Regions from separate parts of the Homo sapiens genome. Here regions 1 and 2 are each linked to region 3. The links are contacts of gene promoters, found by promoter capture Hi-C in human tissues and cell types (Jung and others, 2019). All regions are on one chromosome and are shown on one strand. Each heading gives the region's core, a stretch centred on a gene start or on the middle of the fragment in contact. The rest is flanking DNA. Distances are from core to core; before and after follow the strand shown.

Region 1 (2,733 bases), core at 234-2,733, 37 kb after region 3:
TGGAATAATTGTCTATGCATATGAGGGAAAAACGAACCTTGACCCCTACCTCATATTACATACAATCCCTCTCATTTTTAGCTGGATTATAGACCCGAATATGAAAGCTAAAACTACATAGCCTCTAGAAAAAAAAAAAACCAGAATATCTTTACAATACATGGGAAAGTAAATATTTCTAAGCGATAAAAATCACTAACTATAGAAGAAAAATGTTTGATAAATTGCTGTATATTAAAATGTAAAACGTATGCTCATCAAAAGGCACCATTAAGCAAATAAGTACTGAAACTAGAGTCAGGGAGAAATACTTGCAAGACATATCTGGCAAAGGACTTAAATTCAGGGTGTGTGTGTGTGTGTGTAAAAGAATCTCTTATATGATATTCTAACATGTTCCCCAGGATTCCAGCCCCCAGGTGTATATGCCCTTCTATGGGCATATATGAGTGTGGTAGACCCAAGGGGAGGAAATTATACATGTGAATATGATGCATGCCACTCCTGTGGTTATGTTACAGTACATGGCAAAATGAAAGGATTTTGCAGATTTAATTAAAGCCAAAAATCAGCTGACTTTAATCAAAAGGAAGATTGCCTTGAGTGGTAAGCTTCTTAAAAGAGATTCAAAACAGGAGAGATCCTCTCTCTCCTCCTGGCCTTGAAGATGCAAGCTGTCATGTCATAACTATCTGTACAGAGGGCTGGCCTCTGGGAGCTGAGGTTCTCAGTCCTACAACCACAAGGAACTGAATTCTGCCAGCAGCCTGAATGAACTTGGAAGAGGACACTGAGCTCCAGATACAAAACCAGTCCCTGCCATCACCTTGATTGCAGCCTTGTGGCACTCTGAGCCGAGAACCCAGCTCAGCCATCATGCTCAGGCTCCAGATGCACAGAAACTATGAGATAATAAATGCACCTTGTGGGCCAGGCACAGTGGCTCATGCCTGTAACCCCAGCACTCTGGGAGGCAGAGGTAGGCGGATCACTTGAGGCCAGGAGTTCAAGGCCATCCTGGCCAACATGGTGAAACCCCATTTCTATGAAAAATACAAAAATTAGTCGGGCGTGGTGGCATGTGCCTGTAGTTCTAGCTACTTGGGAGTCTGGGGCAGGAGAATCACATGAACCTTGGAGGTGGAGGTTGCAGTGAGCTGAGATCATGCTACTGTACTCCAGCCTTGGGCGACAGAGTGAGACTGTCTCAAAAAAATAAAAATTAATGCACCTTGTTTAAACTGCTAAGACCTTGGTAATGTGTCATACATCAATGGAAACCTAATATAACTTATAATTCAATAAGACAAACAACTTGATATTTTTTAATCAGCAAAAGATTTAAAGATATTTCACAAAGGAAACATACAAATGGCCAGTAAGCCCATGAGAAGATGCTCAATATCTTTAGACATCAGGTATATGCAGATTGATACAATAATTAGATATTATTTCATGCCCACACAACACAAAATTTGTTAAAAAACAAACAAAGGATATTAATTGCGAATGTATGTATTTCTGATGGGCATGTAAAATGGTATGACCACTTTGGAAAATGAGTTGGCAGTTTCCTTTTAATTTTTTTTATCTTCTAAAATAGAGATGGGGGTCTCGCTATGTTGACCAGGCTTCTCCTGAACCCTGGCCTCAAACAGTCCTCCCACCTCTGCCTCCCAAAGTGCTGGGATTACAGGTGTGAGCCACCACACCCAGCTGGCAGTTTCTGATAGAGTTAAACATACCTCTGATTAGACAATTCCACTCCTAAATATATTTATCGTGGAGAAATGAAAAACATATATGTCCACAAAAAGATCTATACACAAATGTTCATAGAAGCTTTATTCACAACAGTGAAAAACTGGAAAGAAACCAAAATGTCCATCAATAGCAGAATGGATTTTAATAATCATTAATGAGAAAATACTTGGCAATAAAACTGTTACATACTACGGATGCATGAGCAATGTGGATGAATCTCAAACACACTGTGTTGGACAAAGAAGCCAGACACAACAGAACCCATACTGTGTAATTTCTCATGTATAAAATTCAATAATAGGTGGAACAAATCTACGATGATGGAAATCAGAACCTCAATTGCCTCTAGTGGAGAAGAAATTAAATGGAGAGGAACATAAGAAAATTTTTGGAGGATGATGAAAATGTTCTGTATACTGCCTGGACTATATTGCTAGATACATTAGACAAAACATTTGTCTTTATGTTAAATGCCTTTTAAAAATATTTAAGAAGGAAGCATTAGGCAATAAGGAATTAGAGTCAATGAGTATCAATTGTTGAAGTGTCATGGAGAAAGAAAGTGAGGAAGCAGCTAGAACATGACAGGGGGCCTAGTGAGGATTGTTTAAAGCTTCCATATGTAGCAGCGTATTTGTATGCTGATACAGTGCCCAGGTACAGAGGAGAAAATCAATGGTGCAGAAGAAAGAGAGAAGATTAGTTGGAATGACGTACTTGAAAAGGTGAGAAAGAAGGGATCTAGCGCCCAGATGGAAGGGCTGGTTTTAGACAGAAACACAATTCACCCAAAGTAACAGGAGAGGAGGCAGGGATTATAGTACAGATGCTGGCTTGACATGAGAGACAGTGAGTGGGGCCTGGGGTGCTGGTTTTGGAGTCCATCGTCCATCGTTCCTACAATCAACACTTACTAGATGGAAAAAATAACTCCTGCTTTCTTCACAAGATTGTACTGAGGATTTAATG
Region 2 (2,816 bases), core at 11-2,510, 34 kb before region 3:
ATCTCTGTAAGAAACCAAAGGAATGAACTATTGACATCTGCACCAATATGGATCTATTTCAAAAATATGATAATGAGTGAAAGAAGCCAGACACAAATGAGTACATGCTCTGTGATCCTATTTATTCAAAGCCCTAGTATAGGCAAAACTCATCTCCAGTGACAGAAACCAGATCAGTGGCAGAGAGCTGGGAAAGGGTTTTTTTCAGAGGAGCATGAGTGAGTCCATCATCCGTCCCTTTTTGGGGTGATGGAGGCATTATATATCTTGATTGAGATGTTGGTAATATGAATTATGACATTTTTCAAAATTCATCTAACTGTGCATTTTATTGAATGTAAGTCACACCTCGATACATTTGATTAAAAAAAAAAACAGAGAAAAAACAGAGATGCTGCAACCAGAGAGAGAGAGAAAAAGGGAAGGAGAGACAGAGGAAGGACAGGAAGGAGGGAGGAAGGGAGAGAGAAGAGGAAGAGGCAGCGAAAGAGGATGAGCTATATTGTAATAAAACATTAGCAAAAATAATTACTTCAGGAAATGGATTTGCAGGTGATTTTTATTTTCTTCTGAAGACTTTTCTACATTTCCATTTTAACACTGAATGTGTATTCCTTTTGTAAGAAAAATGTTACATTAAAAAACAATAAGCATACCATTATAAAAAGAAAGGAAGGGAAAGGGAGGGACATGGGTGAGGAATCCTCGTTCATTGTGGCAGTTTAGCCAGAAAGTATTCAGGGCAGTTGGTATTTGTGTTGGCTCTTACAGAATCAACAGAATTTCAAAGGATTTCACCAAGCCTCGACAAAAGGAGAGATCATTTCCCGCAGAAGGAACAACTGCAGAAGAGCATGTGGAGGATGCACTGGTAATACATAGAAATGAGCTTTCTTGAGATAGGAGATTGAAATTGTAAGATTGAAAGGATGAAGCTTCTTTGTCACCAGATTCTTGACTGAAGCAGAGAGAAAGGTTCCATTCACATCAGGCATTAGAGGAGCCATTCGAACTTTTAAGAGATCCACTAAAATGGGAATGGCAGTCCCGTCTGTGCAAGAGCACCATCTGAAGCTTCCTCTCCACACAGGAACTGTGATATCCATGAGTTCTGATGCCTCAATGCCCATCATCAAAGAATGATGCTAATAACCCTTAGTGAGAACCATGGCTCCAGAAGCAGTCTCTGTTAGGTTTGGGTCTTACTGGTGATTTTCCACCATCTGTTACCAGAAGTTCGTTTCTTACCACACGGCTTTTATGTAGTCATTTGTAATAAACCCAGAAATTCAAAAATCAGCAAGCTGTTTCATGGCTCTTTGGAGACCACTGTTTTGCAAAAGTGTTCTAAAATAAACCAAATACCATTTTTTAATTGTATTGTAATTATGTGTGCACATACAAATTTTCTTTCAGTCTTTCTCTTAAATATAAACTTTCAAAACTATACCTCGAACACAGGATTACTAATTTTTGGCCCTCTTCGGTTTTGTTCAGTTACACATTTTCTTAATAACATATATTTTTAATTCTCTTCACTGAATGTCTAGGTTCCTCATTTGCTGCATCAAAACGTTCATTTATTATATAAACTTGATTTCTAAAACACTGAATATTGGGGCTACATGGCAATGCCTCGGTTCTCAGCAACCTTTGTGTAGAACCCACATCTGCATTACAGAATTCCTCAATGTTCATCTCTTTTTTAATCTTGAGGATTTCAATATCTCTTTAATACTGTGTAGAGAAAACCTACCGCTACGTCATACCCTAATGCTTCTCAGACTGTGATGCTCCCTGAAGCCTTGGCAACAGTAGACCCTGGGGTTCCGAAAATTTGGAGGAGCGCCTTAGGTTTTGCATTCCTAATAAAATCCGTGGTGATGCTCCTTCCTGCTTCCTCTTTGTAAAGCACATTTTGAATAACAAGGCTTAGCAGGAGCTTCTTGCACACCAGGCTTTGATGTTTCCCCCCACATATACCTTTGGGACATGACAGTCTCCTCCTTTCAGACACATTTTATTCCCTTGATCTTCACTAAGTTATTCTTCAGGCTCAACTGATCTAAATTATATTTCTAATTCCCACTGCTAATCTTGTATTCTTAGAATTTCTTGGCATCTTCTCCAGCTTTAATATTCGTTCATTTTCATATTCTGAGTTCAGTATACTTACCTACAGCAACTTCTTTCTCTGTCTTAGACCTTTCGAGTCCACATTCACTAATCTCTTTCAAGTTGAGTATTTTCCTGAGTTGTTGATCATAATTCTAGAAGAGAACATTGAAAAAACTTCCTCTTTTCCATATTACTTATATATAGATAGACATTTAGATACAGAGATATGTATAATAGATACATGAAGAAACGTGTGCATGTGCGCACACACACACATAAACACACAATTACATAGATGCCTTAGAAAACACCACTGTCAACCCTTTACAAGGCAAACACAGTGGATATAGTCCAGCTACACTGAACTCAAAATTCAATTCCATAAGACAGTAGAAAAACAAAAAATAGTAAACACGTATATTATATCTAAATACTTTAAATATTTAAATCATATCATGAATTGGGTTCTGCTCCACAAAGAAAATTTTCCAGATATCCCATTGTTTTCTTGTGCTCTCAACCTTCTCTAGTCTCATTTGTCAGTTTTATGTTGCCTCATTCTTTCTCCTGAAACTCAGTCTTCAGATTTTCTATGTCCTCATTCTGTGGCACTGTGTTCTCCATTTTGATAATTTACTTCAGGCCATCCTTAGATGCTCTAATACTTCCCTTGATATTAATAGGATTTTGTCTCCATG
Region 3 (2,700 bases), core at 34-2,533:
TCGGCACTCCTTGGGAGTAGAGGTCCCCTCTCACCGGCTCCCACCCTCCAGAGGGGAGGATTTCTGGGGAGCCCGACGATCCGCTCGCTTTTAGCCTTTCTCCTTGCAACGCGCAAATCTCTCCCTAGTTGGGCTCAAGTAGAGAGGATCACCAACTGCTCATCCCAGCGGACACTCTGCAAAAAACTCTAATGGCTTGTGCGCGGGTCCACGCTGGTCGCTAGCGGCGCCAACTTTACTCATTCGTTAATTTGCTAGTTTTTGGACTGAGTAAAACAGCCCCCAAAGACGCGGGCAAACGCCGCTCTAAAGCCCACTACCATGCAACGCCAGGTTGCTCGGAGCCACGCTGGTGGCACTTCCCCTTCGTGCTCACTCTGCACAGGCACCTCCAGAACCCCGTGCAAATGAACCCTACCGGGAGACGCAGGTGGGCAGGTCGGGTCGGCAGGGACCAAGAGCCTGAAAGGGAACCTGCCCTCCCCTCCCCGCAGCCCGGTCATTAAGGCAAGAAACTGCAGGCAGAGAAGCCCCCGAATCCGACCTAGGACGTCGGCGCCTGCCAGGATCCCCTCGCCTGCCCCCCGCGCCCCGCGCGCGCTCATGCCACCACCACGGGGAGGGTGCATGCGGCAGGTGCCTGGCCGAGGCCCCCGGGAGCGAGTCGCCCTTACGTGCTCCAGCTTGTCTTTCCTCCGAAGCCAGACGCTGGCGCTGTAGTCCTGCTGCTTGACGCTGCTGTAGAAGTTCGCGCCCACTCGGGTCAGGCTTGGGGAGGGCTCCTTGGGGCGGCTTTTGAGCCTCATCTGCTCGAAGCCCTCATGGGGGGAGGCCGAGAGCCACTCGTGCTGCCGGATCTCCATCCTGACATGACCGGGCGGCCGCCGGCGAGCAGCGGACTCGGGACGGGCGCGCGGGGAGCCGGGCGCGGAGGGCGAGCGGGAGGCCCAGCGGGAGCCGGAGGTGGAGCTGGAGACTGAGCTGGAGGAGCTGGAGGAGCGAGCGGGCGCGGGGAGCGCGGGGTGCTGAGCGCCAGCTGGGAGCGCGGCCGGGCGGGAGGGGGCGATCGCGGGAGGCGCGGGGCGGAAGGAGGGAGGGCGAGGTGCGGGCGGGGGCGGGGGCGGGGGCGGAGGGGGACGGACGGGGAGAAGGGGGACGAGAGGGGACAGGGAGGGAAAGGAACCTGCTCCGGGGAGACAGAAGTGCCCGGTGCGGCGGCGACGTCGCCCGGCGGCTGCGGTCCCGAGCGGGCGCTCCGCTCGCCGGCTCCTTGCGGCACCTACTGGGACCCGGGCCGGCTCCCGGGGCGGCGGCGGCGGCGGGGGTGGGGTGCGGTGGGAGGGGCCGCGGCTGGCCCAGCCAGCCCGCGCCTGCAGGTTGGTGCAGTGAGGAGCCGCCGCCGCCCCTCCCGCCGCGCCCAGGCCCGGGCGGCCGCGCTCCCGCTCCGCACCCGCCTTTCCCGAGCAGGCTACACCTCTCCCTGGCGCATCTTTACTGGAAAGCCGGCAGGCGAGGGGAGAAGTGAGCGCCGTCTCCGCGCCTCCTCGGTCCTGCTGGCTGAGCGCGGGGATGGCTCCGGAGGGAGACACTCAGGAAACCACCTCCGCCCTTCCCCCATCTCTATCCAGCGGCGCCCCCTCACCCTGCCCCCGGCTCGCTTGGGCTGCGCCTTCCCCCATTCTGAAAGTTCACTAACTTCCCACCCCAAGGGACTTAGAGCAGAGGGTGCCCAGCATTCCCCCCTGAAAATAGCCGAGAGACATGTGTTTTCTGGAGCCGTACACGCTACTTTCATCCGATGGTGTGGCGATGCAAATACGCCCGGGGGCAGTAGCCCCTCGGGCAGGCACGCGGGACCGGTTGCTCCCCAGCCCTCGGTGTCCACCTAGAACCGGGCTCCCCGGGCCGCACCCATTCCGATCCTGGGAGGGTGATCCAGGGCTCCTCTGCAACGCTCCGCTTGTGCGGTGACTGTTCCTTAGGTGGACGTGGCCCAACTGCTGTGCATTTGTTTCTTTTCTCTGTTTCTAGGCCCCTAGGGTCCAGGCTTTTCCTTCGGGGCCCAGCCAAGCGTGATGATTATTAGGAATAGGGTGGCTTGTTCGCGATTAAATCTTCAATCTCTTCATCTTTTGCTATCTTTGGAGTCAACCTCTCGAAACATTTTTTGGTTTTATCTAAATGCTAAACAGCTGGTGTTCAGGGTGTCTCGTGTCTGGTTAAAAGCTTGGGAAGTGTATGGAAGCTGGAGAGGTATACAGGGGATTTTAGAGGGTGTTGCCAAGGGTAAACTGAAGGCTCTCTAGCCCTCGGCAGAACTGCCCTACTTGAATGACGGTTTCAAAGACATTCTGGCTGGGATTTCACAAACTTTTAGGAGGACAGGGATTGTGTTTCATATCTTTTCAAAGTCTCCATTTAAAAAAATGGTATAGTAAAAATAGTAGTTGAAATAAAATCCTGTGCACATTCAATATGGGGATGAAACAACTAAACACAAATACACACATTTTGGTTGTGCTAGGTTGGTTTTCTTAGGAGCTGAACTATATTGTGCAATAGATGCCCCGACCTGTGGGCTATCTCTAAGTCTCATGTTATCCTGCAAGATAAATGTTATTAACCCTCCTTTCCAGTGAGGAAAGTGAAGCAGAAGCAGAAATTACACTTCAAAACAAGGATATGAACCAGATTGAAAAG

What was found. Contacts are between HindIII fragments. The study calls those that stand out against the background at their distance.
Region 1: a fragment that was not itself captured here is called in contact with the fragment with the promoter of PLD5 in region 3 in 10 of the 25 tissues and cell types used here (H1 embryonic stem cells, bladder, dorsolateral prefrontal cortex and 7 more).
Region 2: a fragment that was not itself captured here is called in contact with the fragment with the promoter of PLD5 in region 3 in 4 of the 25 tissues and cell types used here (mesendoderm cells, ovary, small bowel and 1 more).

The regions. Positions count from the first base shown.
Region 1 is chr1:242,560,553-242,563,285 of GRCh38, forward strand. No RefSeq gene overlaps it. Among named protein-coding and RNA genes, the nearest start is that of PLD5, 37 kb to the left of the region's middle. The HindIII fragment of the contact is 4,065 bases long and covers 1-2,733 here.
Region 2 is chr1:242,489,012-242,491,827 of GRCh38, forward strand. The region is part of intron 1 of PLD5 (phospholipase D family member 5); the gene reads right to left. LOC105373234 (a long non-coding RNA gene) reads right to left here. Exons shown (of 3, transcript XR_949328.2): 2 at 2,177-2,270; 3 at 542-1,347. Among named protein-coding and RNA genes, the nearest start is that of PLD5, 34 kb to the right of the region's middle. The HindIII fragment of the contact is 5,746 bases long and covers 1-2,816 here.
Region 3 is chr1:242,523,414-242,526,113 of GRCh38, forward strand. PLD5 (phospholipase D family member 5) reads right to left here and starts at 1,284. Exons shown (of 10, transcript NM_001372062.1): 1 at 675-1,284. The coding sequence starts at 863. The HindIII fragment of the contact is 9,545 bases long and covers 1-2,700 here.